2 separate regions of the Homo sapiens genome follow, and region 2 is linked to region 1. Evidence: promoter capture Hi-C in 16 types of primary human blood cells and fetal thymus (Javierre and others, 2016). All regions are on one chromosome and are shown on one strand. The core of a region is centred on a gene start or on the middle of the fragment in contact, and the rest is flanking DNA. Distances in the headings are between cores, read along the strand shown.

Region 1 (6,785 bases), core at 1,363-3,862:
AACAGAAGTCCTGCAGATGAGGATATAAAGATAGGAGGATATAGTCCTTGGCATCAAAGTGTTCAATATGAAGGGTATGCAAATAACTACTGTAAAACATAGTATTATAACAGCAGGTATGGTCTAAGCTAAGTTCCTTGAATGCAGAAACCAGCCTACATGTCTTTGTGATCTCTGCATCTAGCACTATGCCTGGAATACAGTATGTGATCATGAATGAGCCCATATACACCCCTGGAAGAGAAGACAATATAGACTAACAGCCAATCACTGTGAAGAGAGCGCAGTGTTTTCACAAAGCAGGGACCATCTAACTTGGGTCTCACAAGGTGAGTAGGAATTTACACATCAGGGCTTCAGACAAAAGAGAAATCAAGCAGAAAGAGACAGATTGAAAAAGCATGCAGTATGCAGGCAACAAGCTTAGTATGACTGTATAGAAGGTCACTGCAGCAGATGAGACAGCACATATTGGTGGGCTCATACTATCAGGAGTTTTCAATGTTATTGCATAGGCAATAATAACAGTTATGGAATTTCGGAAGTGCAGTATGAACAGATCTAATTTGGCAAGACTAGATGAATTTGAGAGGAGTAAAACTGGAGGACGGAAGTTTCGTTTCAGGAATCTAAGGTTGAGGCAAGAGATAATGACGGCAGGATTTAAAGCCATTATAAGTATGATTAGAGATTTATCCAGGACCTTCGGTGGCTTCAGGCCACTTTTTGCAAGTAAGTCTACAGAAGAAACCGCACAGTGATTACTGCACTAATTTATCCTCAGAAAAGAGTTGTTTGCTGGGTATCTTCATCTCCTGGAAATTGAAACATCAAATCCGATATTTTTTGGAGGCAATCAAATTAATTCTGCATAGCCTTCTAGTGTCTGTATAACTAAATGAAGCACAGTCTTTTCACAGAAAAGTCTACCTAGAGATTTGGAAAACCATGATGGCCTGAACCGAGAGACGGGAGACCCTGCAAATAAAGTGGTGTGTATTATATCTTAAGCGCTACCGTGCCCGCTGTCTCAGGCTTCTGACAAAATATTTAAGTCTCAATGTTGGCAGCAAAACAGGCGGGCACAGATCTGGGTGAATCTGCTTCTAACATGGAGAAGAAGCGGATGGCAGGACAGGGCAGGGTAAACTTAGGGTCTTCGATGCAAGGGACTGTCCTGTCCCGCCTGCCGCCGCCCAGCCAGCCAGTAGTACCCTGAGCCCCACAATCGTACGATGGGAAGCTGCCTGCGAAACACAGCAGAGTAGGGCACCAGGCGGGAGTGGCGGCCGAGTGGCCGTTACAGGCCGGAACGGCGGCAGCACGAAAGGGAGGAACGTCCCCCGAGGGGCCTGCACGCGCGCCAATTCCTAGTCTCTTCCCCACCATTGCCCCCAGGCCTCAGTGCAGTGGTGGCCTTCGCCCGAACCGTCAGAAAAGAGTACAATCTGTTACCTGGGTCACTGCAAAGATCACTATGGGCCAGCGGAAGCGAAGTTAAACAGCCGGCGGCCCAGGCGCCCGCCACAGCGAACCTGCCCGACCTCACTGAACCCCTGGCGCGCGTTGATAATGTCACTTCCGCCAGTTCTGCCCTCGGCTTCAGCGAGTTGCTCCCACTAGGGCCGAGGCCATGAGAAGTGTGAGCATAGGTCACTTCCTGTGTTTCCATAGGTAAGGAGGGGCGAAGCTCTTGAGGAGTTCCGGGGCGGGGCCGCCGTGCCACAGCCATCTCTAATTGGCCCTTGCTGGACGTAGGAAAGATCGATTTTTAAATGGCGTGTGTGTGTATATGTGTGAGTGTGTTTTGTTGTTGTTGTTGTTGTTGTTTAAAGCAACTAGCGGCGTTACCTTCGACAAGTTACCTGACCTCTCCCCCGCATTTTTTTTCTGTAAAATTGAATAATGATAACAGTGCTTACCCTTGGGCTGTCGGGAGATTGACAGAGATTGACAGAATCAGTGCCTGAGCAGTGCTTGGCACTCAGTAAGCGCGTCCTCCTTACCTGTCAGCAAGAACGCTAGCTGATCTTCAAGCGTGTAGAATGACAAGGAACACTAAGCAAAACAAACAGCTTGTGTTTACACATGCATTTATATTCAGTTCTGCCACTCCCAGTTCATGCACTGTTGTCACATGGCTCTTTCCGCAGTTGTTTCTTAGTGGGACTTCAGCACGCCTTGATTTTCCCTTCTGTAGTTCATTGTGGCGTAATCATATGTTATACTGCTTGTTTTCTTTGTACTTTTTATTATCAGTGAGGTTGTGAGCTCTTTAAGGATAGGAAATGTTATATACATTTTTTATTAGCCAGGACAATTAACGTTCCCACCGTTATTCGAGTTGCCGTTGCGCCATAGTTCTGACAATTTTTTTGTATGGTCAGACTTAAATTTTTGTCCATTGGGGTGAATTCCAATGTTTTCTTCGAGGGGGAAAAAAACAAAAAACAAACAAAAAAAACCCTTTACATCCCTGTCAGCGCTTTTTGGAATGGGCGGGATTCAACTACCAAAGGGACAAGCCGCCGTGCAGCCCTCCAGGAGCAACGACTAGCGTGAGATAGAGAGGCCGGGAGCGAACTTCAGGAGAAGCCGGAAGTGGCGTAACGTCCGGTCAAGGCAGCCATCTCGCCGTGAGACAGCAAGTGTCGGATCCGCAGGCGCAGCCGTGCGATGTTGTCCTCTACAGCCATGTATTCGGCTCCTGGCAGAGACTTGGGGATGGAACCGCACAGAGCCGCGGGCCCTTTGCAGCTGCGATTTTCGCCCTACGTTTTCAACGGAGGGTAAAAACCCCAGAGAGCTGCGGCTTTCACTTTCGCCCTTCCCCCATCTGCTGAAGCCTATTTAGGAGTCACCGCCGTGATGGCGCTGCCCCGGGCTCCTGCAGGCCTCAGAACCCTGAGCTGAGGGGGTCCGCACAAGGCCGGTCTCCCTGCCGTCCTCTCATGCCCTGTGTTTCCCTCTTCAGGCTCGCTTTGCTCAAGTTTACTTGGTGATTGCGATACAGCCTTGGTTTTTAGGGTTTCCCATTACAGTCATGTCATTTGAGTTTTTATGTGGACCGCCACTCCGTGCTCCTTGCTGCTGTAAGACAGTAAAGTAGAAATTGAAACATAGCCTCTGCTCTGTGGAAGACCATTAAAACTGGACCTCATGTACACGTTTCTTATGCCAGCCGGCGAGGGTAGAGGGTTAGCGTCTGAAACTTAAAAGTTAGGGTTGTTTGGTCTGTGTTGTTAGATGCATAGCTGGGTTGGTAGCCGAGATGTCTAATTGTAGCCGCCTGATTTCTGTTATTTCTAATTGTAGCAGTTTAATCATTTTGTTTTATTTCAAATAGAAGGTGGGATTGGCTGAGCAAACTTAGTTTCATAGATAAGTGCTTTTTTTTTTTAACGTTTAGCTTAAGTTCAGGAAAACAAAATACTCAGAAGATGGACCTTTTAGTATGTGTGTTCTTGTATGTTATGTTCAAGTTTTGGTTTTTATTTTAATTACCAGCTTTATCTTGAGTAGTATAATTTTCCGTGGTGGCACGCCAGAGATTTAGGGTTATAGAAAGATGCTCTGTTTAAGACTCTTGACAGGGAAGAGCTGTAAATTGAAACAGTGGTTATAGTTACCAATCAAGCCTTGTACATTAAAATATACACACGCAATTTGAACGAACCGATGGTTCTTAAAACAGAAAATATTGGCTGGGCAGTGTGGCTCGCACCTGTAATCCCAGGACTTTGGGAAGCCAAGGCAGGAGGATCATCGCTTGAGGCCAGGAGTTGAAGACCAGCCTGCGCAGCATAGCAAGACCCCATCTCTACAAAAATAAATTTTAAAAACAAAGCAAAAATGTTAATTGGTTCCTCATAAATTTGAAATATAAATGCACATTTTGGGAGTGTGTTAGAAAGATAACGAAAGTCTGATTTTAGCCTTGGTTCTGCCACTAAAGGACACTTTGGGTACTTCTGAACTTCTTGAACCTAAATTTCCTTATCTTCCTTAGTAGCTTCATAGTTTTTGGTGAGAATCAAGAGAGATGCATTTTGTAAATTGCAAGCTGTCATCTTATTTAATCCTCATGAAAAGTGAATGTTAGATGATATTAGCATCCTAGGGTTATATTAGACGTTAAACTGTCAGGGTCAGAGAGCTGGTGTGAAGTTGAGCCAGGACTTAATTCATAGCTATTTCACCACTGAGTTTATGGATGCTTTTCCATTATACACCTTAACACTTCCTGTGATGACTAATTAAGTTGTATATTGTAGGGAGGGTTATTGGACCCGTTTCGTAAGGCTATTCTCTATAAATAAGAATTTTCAGTGTTCAGTATGCCCTACTCGTTACTCACTTTTTAATCCCTTGTAATCCAGTTTAAGCCATTACTGCCCTAAAAATTACTTAGATCTTTCTGATTACTTTTTCTCAGTCATTGTTCTTTTTCTTTAGTGTTTACTGCAGCTGGCTCTCAGGCAGCCTTCGCTTCCGCAAAATGAGGCCTCATTCTCTTTTCCTACTCTGTCTTTAAATGTAGTTAAGTCATTAGCCGCCTTGTTTATCGCTCAGCACTCTTTCATGTCTCATTGCTGGGAGGATTACTCCCAAATCTGGTTTTCCAGTTCTGCCTCTCATGAGTCCCTCGATTCGGCTTCTTCAGTAAAACATTTTTAACTGGTTTTTCTGCTCTCAGGGCAACTCAAGACAGCTAGCAAAACAAAAAGCAAGCTAATTATTCCCCTTCATCTCCTCTTCTCCTTTCTTCTTATTTTTTGAGACAGAGTCTCACTCTGTCACCCAGGCCGGAGTGCAGCGGTGCGATCTCAGCTCACTGCAACCTCCAACTCCTGGGTTCACGCATTTCTGCCTCAGCCTCCCGAGTAGCTGGGATTACAGGTGCCTGCCACCACGCCTGGCTAATTTTTGTATTTTTAGTAGAGATGGGTTTCACCATGTTGGCCAGGCTGGTCTCGAACTCCTGATCTCAGGCAATTGACCCCCCCCCCCCCCCTCAGCCTCCCAAAGTGTTGGGATTACAGGTGTGAGCCACCGTGCCCGGCCTCCTCTCCTTTAAAATACTTATAATTATGCCATCATTCTGTTCATCTAAGTTCTAAATCTTGGATGTCATAATTGGTTTTCCCAGTTCCTAAAACATTTGCGTAGATATAAAAATTTGTCTATTTTGTGTGTTTGTGATGATTTTGGATTTACTGTTCACCCTGCTACCTTACTATTGCATTAGTAGTATTAGAACAGTGTTTCTGTCCCATTTCACATACTATGTTATTGTCAGAGCAGTCTTCCTAAAACCCCACTTTGTAAATGGAACTTTTCTCTCTCTTGCATTCCTTTTTTAAAGACCAGGTCTCACTCTAATGCCCAGGCACGATCATAGCTCACTGCAGCCTTGAACACCTGGGCTCAAGCAGTCCTCCCACCTCAGCCTCTTGAGTAGTTACAACTACAGATCATTCTTGCTCAGAATACCTTCATGATTTCTTGCTAAAATTCCAAAATCTTTAGCTTGGCATTTGGGATTTTCTACAGTAGGAACCCTGTCCATCACATAAACCTTAACGTCACTACATGTGCTTATGCAAAAAGGGCTGCCTGAATGAGTTGCTTGAATGTATGTACTATTTGAATAATTACCTGTTTGCCATTGCTTGCTGTTTATATTACCTGGAATGCCATCCTTTTCTTCTTGAGAGCTTTAGCACAAATCCCTCCTCAGTAAAAATAGTGGCTTAAGTTTCCTGAGTGCTTACGTCTGTGAGGCACCATGCCTTTAATTTCCACTATTGCATTGAAGCAGTGGTTATAGTTATCAGTCAAGCCTTGTACATTAAAATATACACACCCAAATATATATACACACCTTGTGACACAGGTACTGTTATCATCAACTTGCATTTGGAGGATTTGTCCAAGATCACATACCTAGTAAGTAGCAAGAGTGGGTCTCTGTCTCATGTAATTCCAGAGCCCAGGTGCTTAGTCATACTCCAGTGCCATAGCACTTATAGCTAACACTTACTAGAGGACCAGTTACATGTCAGGGACTGCTATAAGGGCTTACATATTTGATCCTTTGAACACCCTAATGAGGTAGCAACTGCAGTGATCTCTGTTGTATATATGATGAAATTGACGCTTTGAGAAGTAACTTACCCACAGTCTCATATCTGCGAAACGGGAAAGCCAGAATTAGAACCCAGGCGGTCTGCTTTTGGAATTCTACTGTAAGTCTCTTTGATAAGCTGTCAAATTGTACAGCCACAGAGGGAAAAATTTACTGTTTGTCCATCTATTTGTCATTATATAAGGGATTGGGTATAAAGAAATAAGCATTATATAGGCGTTATATAAGGACTTGGATATAAAGAAATGAAGCAAGAAAAAAAAATCTCATCTTCTCTAAACTCATAGAGCTTGCGTTGTAGTACCACTGTCTATACCTGATCCTCAAGGGCACAGATGTGGTATTTAGTTGTTCTGTATTAGTAGTACCTTGCGCGAGTAAGTATTTAATGTGTTGGTGATGATAATTCATTGGCTTTTCTGTTAACTCCTGCCAAGGAGACTTTGCCCTGATTTAGGCTTATTAATAATTTTTTTTTCCCAGACAACTCGTAGCCAGGCGTTCATTCTCTTCCCGCTCATCTTTCCTCTTCCCATTTGAATCATGTTTTTGTTGACATCTAGAGTATTTTATCCCATTATGTACTATGGAGCATTCTTCTATTTGTAGGGATAGGATTACCACCCTGGAGAATTAA
Region 2 (6,083 bases), core at 3,486-5,985, 760 kb after region 1:
GTGGAACTCCAAATGCTTAGGAAAACATGGCATCCTTATGAAAAATTGGGTTTTGAATGACACATGCTGTAAACAACAACCAAACACATTTGTATGTGAAAATCAAATTCAAAAACTTTAGAAAATATTTGCAAAAGCTGATTATGGGTAATTCCTCTGAACAGATCCAAGATTTAAAAAAAATAAGATAATCTGTATAAAAGCTGCATTTCGTATCTGATGAAATTTAGCGTTAAAAAACTTAATAAAATAGGATTTGATAAGTATTTTCATAACATGGTAAGATACACCTATCTCAAACCAAAAGACAATATCAAGTTAATTTCTTCAACAAATAATAAGAAAATTAGTAAGATGTAGGGATAAAATTGATATACAGAAACCAATAGCTTTAGAAGATATAACAAAAGAAATTACTCCCATTTAATTAGCAAGAAAAAGTTCCCAGGAATAAACTTAACAAGAAAGTTAACATCTATATGAGATACATTTTTATCCACCCTCGAAAGTTTATAAAAGAAAACTTGGACAAATAGAAAGACTTATGATGTTCTCGACTAGGAAGACTCAACATCATAAAATGCCAACTTTCCCTGACTTATTATGTAAATGAATGCACCTAAATAAAAATAGACTGAGGTTTTTCTGGATCTTTGTATTTTATTTATTTGTTAATTTATTTTACTGTGAGGTGAGAACTAGACAATCTGATTCTAACATTCAAATAGAAAAAGAAGCAAACAAAAATAGGAAAATCCAGAAAAAAAAAGAGTAAAGAGAAAATTAGCCTTACCAGTTCTTAGATCATATAATAGTTTTAATAACTAAAACATTGTTGTACTGGGTCATGAATAAACACACAGAACAACAGAAAAGCACAGGAAATACAGATAGACACAAAAATAGGAGGGAAATTAGTAAGTCATAAAAGTGACATCTAAAGTTGTTAGTGAAAAAAACTATGTGATAAATGGCATTAGGACAACTGAGTAGCATTCAGCAAAATAAATAATAAAAGATGAAAGTTGCACCCATGTCCCACCATGTATATAAAAATAAATTTCAAATAGATAAAATATTTAAATGTTATCAGTAAAGCCATAAAAATACTAACAGAAATCATGGACAAATTCCATGATTTTTTAAATTAAAACTGAAAAATCCAAATGCAGTAAAATAATTTATAAGTTAAACTACCTCAAAATAGGAATTTCTGCATGAAAAACTACCATCAGCAAATTAAGAAATCAAGACAGACACTGAGGAAAAGAATGTATTTTCACCTCTTATCACAACTTACATCCTTAATATATTAAAAGCTCCAAAAAATCAATAAGAAAAAGATTAAAAAAACTCAATAGATCAATAGGCAAAAAACTTTGATGGAATGGTCCAGTGAAAAGAAACTAAATAGATGCTCAGCCTTACTAATAATATAATAGGAAACCTATTCAATCAGCAAATGTCAGAAGACATTCCTGATGTGCAGGTAGGGAGCCGTGGAGAAGTAGTGGCCTTCATGCCTGGGAAGAGCGAATCACATGACCGCATGCAGGATAATTTGACAACACCTACAGAATTACAAAGATGTGTGTCCTCTGACCCAGCAATGTCACTCCTAGGGACTGATTCCAAAGATGGCTGCAAAATGGTATATTAGCAAGATAACAGCATTATCTGTTATAACAAAAGATTTGAAAGAATCTGTGTCTATCAACACCAACCACCCATACAGTGTGGTACTGAAATACTCCACAGCTGTAAGAAAATGGAATGCTACATGTACTCATAGGGGGGATTATCCAATTTATAAGAGCAAGGTGTGGTAAAGTGCATGTAATCTGCCACCATTTGTGTAAAACACAGAGAAGATGAAGGTGAGCACTCATATTCCTGTGTGTTTGCATCTGCATCAGGAAGCTCTAAGGACGCACAAAAACCTAATCATAACTCATGCCCTTAGTGCCACATATAAAGAGTTCCTAGAAATCAATAAGAAAGACTTTGTTACACACAGGAGTGTAATGAAACCAGGCAGAGGAGGATGTGGATGGAGAACAGACTATACTGAATGCTTTTCATGTTTTTCATTTATGAGCCATGTGAGTTTTCTCCCATACAATAATGAAATTATCATTTTTAAAGCATGATTTCTTCAAGATATATCATAGGCTGTTTTGTTCAGTTTATGATGCATCTTTTTTATTTCTATACATGTATGGGGTACGGGTGTAATTCTGTTACATGGATATGTTGCACAGTGCTAAAGTCTGAGCTGTTAGTGTTCACCCAAAAGATGAGTATTGTACTCATTAAGTAATTTCCCATTGTCCACTCACCTCTCATGCTCACACACCATGTTTTTATTTAAACAACACTTTCTTTTATGTTTGGGGCCTCAAAGAATAAATACTACTATTTTCCAACTAGACAGACTCCCACTGGCTTCATAGACCAGTTATTTTGACACTACAGACAATAATTTAAAAGCAAATATTATGTGGTTTGTATTTATTAATGGGTTAATTTAACAAGAACAGCCTTTTCAAACACTGCAAAGCATGTTTTCTACAATAAGATTTTCTGTTTTTTCTTTTGCCTTTGTTTCCAGCTTACTAATTACAGATTCTGCAAAACTATTTCATAAGCCAGTTCTGTGGAACCCCTTTCTGGCCATTTCCTGAAGCAACTTTCTTTCCTAATCATCCCCATAACATGAAGGCCAGGTTCTGCAAGTAAAGGGTGGTGAGGCAATTCTGGAATCATCTAAGTGGCAAGCCCAGGGGGGTGGGTTTCAGAGAACACATAGAGGAAAGTGGAGGCTCGGGAGGTGTGGAAATACTGACCTGATGGAATTAACCATCTTCCCGGGAGCAAGACTGAGCCCATGGAGGGTGCTGTGGAGCTTGCTGCAGGTTCTGCTGGATAGGAAATTGTGTCTCATCCACCTGCTGTCTGCTTCTGTCCTGTCTTAGCCCAGCAGAGCTGTTTTAACACAGACATTTGCAGCCTGCCCAGTACTCTCCTGGAACCAATAAGTCGCCAGTTAGGAAAAAGATCAGCACTGACCAAACACAGAGATGTTGGAAACCTGCATTAATCCCCAGTAGAGGCAGAGGCTCTGAATGCTGAAGCCACAGCTACGACTTGGCCACACTCTGCACATGGCCCCAGACATTCAGATTTCTGCACCCTCAGGGTGGCTTGCAGGCTCCAGAGCCGGGGTTCGGGCCCTGCTGACCACAGCCAGCTGTCCCCTGCAGCCTCAGACCAGGGCCAAATTCCTGGTGTGCTTCCCTCCTGCACCCACTCAACAGCTCTGTGGCCTTTGCAAGCACCTGCCTGACAGGGCTATGGCAATGTGTGGAGTCAGACAATGGTGCCAAGTCGGGAGCGGACTTACGGTGAGACAGTGTAGATAAAGCCTGGGGCCCAGCTCCCCAGCAGCACCTGCTCCTGCACTGTGGCCACCGTGGCAACGTAGCTGCTTCTATTTCCTTGAGCTCCATTGCCATCTTTTCCCAGGCGGGGCCCCTTCACCCCCTGCACCTGCCACCATCCGCCCTTGCCCCTTACTCCTGAGCCTCCTTTCAGTCCTGCTCTTGGAAGGGAAAGAACCCCTGGCTTGGGGAGCCTGCCTGGTCCTGGGGTGGCCGCCTGCCAAGGCCCTGGCATCTCCCATCCTGAGGCTCCTGCCCTGCCTCTGAGCTCTCCCTCTCACTCCCGTCCCCTTGGCCTCTCCCGGCTGGGGCCTTGCTGTCTGTCACCCCTGAACGGAGCTGATGCTGACACCCCAGAACAGCAGGGACCTGGAACTGTTCCAGTCACCTGCTTCAAGCAGCACCTTGAGGACAGACCTTCACCTGCACTTGGAGCATTTAGTTGAACTGCAGTTTTGATAATAATGTAACTGTGTGCAAACACTAGAGCAAGTGACTGTGGTGTGGAAGGGCGAATACTCGGGAAGTGTGGGATTTTTGTCTGAGAAGTTTATTCAGCAAGCAGCTAATTCATGGTAACATAAAGAAAGTTGATATGAAAACTGCCCTTCCCCTATATCCCTAAGGAGACCACCAAGAAGACCAGGACATGCTATTACGTATGTTCTAGAAATGATGAAGGGGAGCACTGGGGAGCTAAGATACATGGGTTTAATCTCAGATTCACTTCCGATGAACCGCCCTCCTTCGTGCATCCACTCTGAAAGGCGTGGCCTCAGTACGAATTTGGGAAGCTTTTGCAGTGGCAGAAGTCATGAAATTAGGGGGCAGCACCTTAGGGCCATCAAAAGGGAGGGTTGTCTTGGGAATGAAGGTTTGGCGTTAACAGATCTGGCTTGTTGGGTCTAAAGAACAACAAAGTATTCCTCCCTGGCTCTCGGAACTCAAGGTCCTGAGCTCTTCAATACTGGGCAAGTTCACGTTTGCACATTTCGCACAAGCAGGAGGCAGGGTGAGTTGTTGGGATTCATGCCAGGCAGAGCCGAGCACATCAGGGGCCCTGGGTAAAAGGGGGTGGGGACAGCGCAGGCACCAAAGGTCTTGGCATGGGGTTGCCAGCCACCAGCAGACACCAGATGGGAAGGGAAACCGCAGGCCCACCGTTTGCCTCTGCCTGCGGGGTGCTGCCCCCACAGTGCCTCTCAGGTGTCTGTAGTCTCACACTTGTTTCTCACCCTCAATGTGGATCACAGCTGCCGCATGTCTCTGTAAGCACCACAAGGCCGGTGGCATCCCCTTGGGCTCACAGGATGCCTGAACCACCAGCCTCATCCTGAACTCCCCTCCATGTACGTGAGCCCCATTAGCTTTTCTCCCATTTGTAGGCAATGGAAGGCCAAACTCTCTTAGAGAAAGAACAAGAAACTAGGGTGAGCTGCCTCACATGTTGAGATGTGGAAAACTGAGATTTATTTGCAGAGAAAAGAACTGGGCTCCACTGTCCTGAGGGTGCCTCTGGTCTCTCGCAGTTGGATCCCCTCACATTTCCCAAGCCCAGGTCCAGATCTCCTCCTCCCCACCCTATCTCTTCACTTCTCATAAACCAGCTCCCCTAGCTTTGCCCAGATCACCCAGCAACACCATGGCAGGTAAATCCTTCCTCTTTACAGTAGACTCTGAAATTCGCCCTATGTTTCCCACTCCCCTCTTCGTCGATGAAAAGGAACAGCTTGGGGTTTCCAGCACCTGGTGCCTCCTGTCTGCGGCCCCTCCAGGACATTGGCTGTAAAGCTTTCTCCTCCTCCAGACGCCTTCGTGCACCCACCTGCACCGACCGTCCCGACCTCAGCCCACCTTTTCTCCATCCTGAGCCACAGTACATGTCCCCCAGGAATCTGTGGCTCTGACCACCTCTGACAATTCACTCCCCGTCAGCCCCTTGGGAACCCCAAGAGAGTTCAGCCTGAGCCCCCGGCCTTCCGGGCCTCCCCAGCTGTGTTTCCGGTCATTCCTTTCCTCGAGTCCCTCCACCCTGGATGCCCAGGGTGCCACCCTAGCCTCCCCTACACGCTGGCTTGGTTCTTCTCAACCATCGCCATTGGCTTGGTTTCTGTTGTGTTTGGTTTTTAGGGGTCAGGCTGCCGAGTGCTGTTCTTCTCCTGGGCTCTGTCCTCCTCTCTCTCCTTGGGTTGCAGCATCCAGGTCTGATCCAATAACTCCACAGCACACAATGCGGCCCAGGCCATGCACGGAGGAAGACAGCAGAGCGGCCATGAGGCTCCCAAAGGGAGCCAGGGCCCAGGCCCAGCACACCCTGCCCACAATCCCCTGCATCCACTGCCTCTCCTGCACCCGGCACTGGGCAGCGTGGGCTGTGTCAGCGGTGTCCCTCCTCCCTTCTCAATCTGTTGTGAGCTCCATTAGGCCAGGGACCGGTCCTTAGAAGCTGTGGGACCCTTCAGCCTCCCTAGCAGAATGTCTTGCACACAGTGGTGGCTCCATAAAATATTTATTTTCTATTTTGTCCATTTATTTTATAAATCTCATGCAGGCCAGATAGATTGGAATTATCAATTACTCTAGAAAATAAAAGGATAAAAGCAAGATCTGGAAATACAGACCGAGCAGCACTGGAATGCACCA

What was found. The method cuts DNA at HindIII sites, captures the fragments that hold promoters and counts their contacts. A CHiCAGO score of 5 or more calls a contact.
Region 2: a fragment that was not itself captured here is called in contact with the fragment with the promoter of PSMB1 in region 1 in 11 of 17 cell types (activated CD4 T cells, naive CD8 T cells, total CD4 T cells and 8 more); the score reaches 9.2 in activated CD4 T cells.

Annotation. Positions count from the first base shown.
Region 1 is chr6:170,549,134-170,555,918 of GRCh38, reverse strand. It overlaps PSMB1 (proteasome 20S subunit beta 1), which reads left to right and starts at 2,612. Exons shown (of 6, transcript NM_002793.4): 1 at 2,612-2,789. The coding sequence starts at 2,677. It overlaps TBP (TATA-box binding protein), which reads right to left and starts at 1,550. Exons shown (of 8, transcript NM_003194.5): 1 at 1,456-1,550. RefSeq lists enhancers at 1,280-1,669, 2,480-2,859. The HindIII fragment of the contact is 7,721 bases long and covers 425-6,785 here.
Region 2 is chr6:169,792,126-169,798,208 of GRCh38, reverse strand. The region is part of intron 1 of LINC00242 (long intergenic non-protein coding RNA 242); the gene reads left to right. It overlaps LINC00574 (long intergenic non-protein coding RNA 574), which reads right to left. Exons shown (of 3, transcript NR_026780.1): 2 at 2,847-3,025. Among named protein-coding and RNA genes, the nearest start is that of LINC00242, 3.7 kb to the left of the region's middle. The HindIII fragment of the contact is 997 bases long and covers 4,237-5,233 here.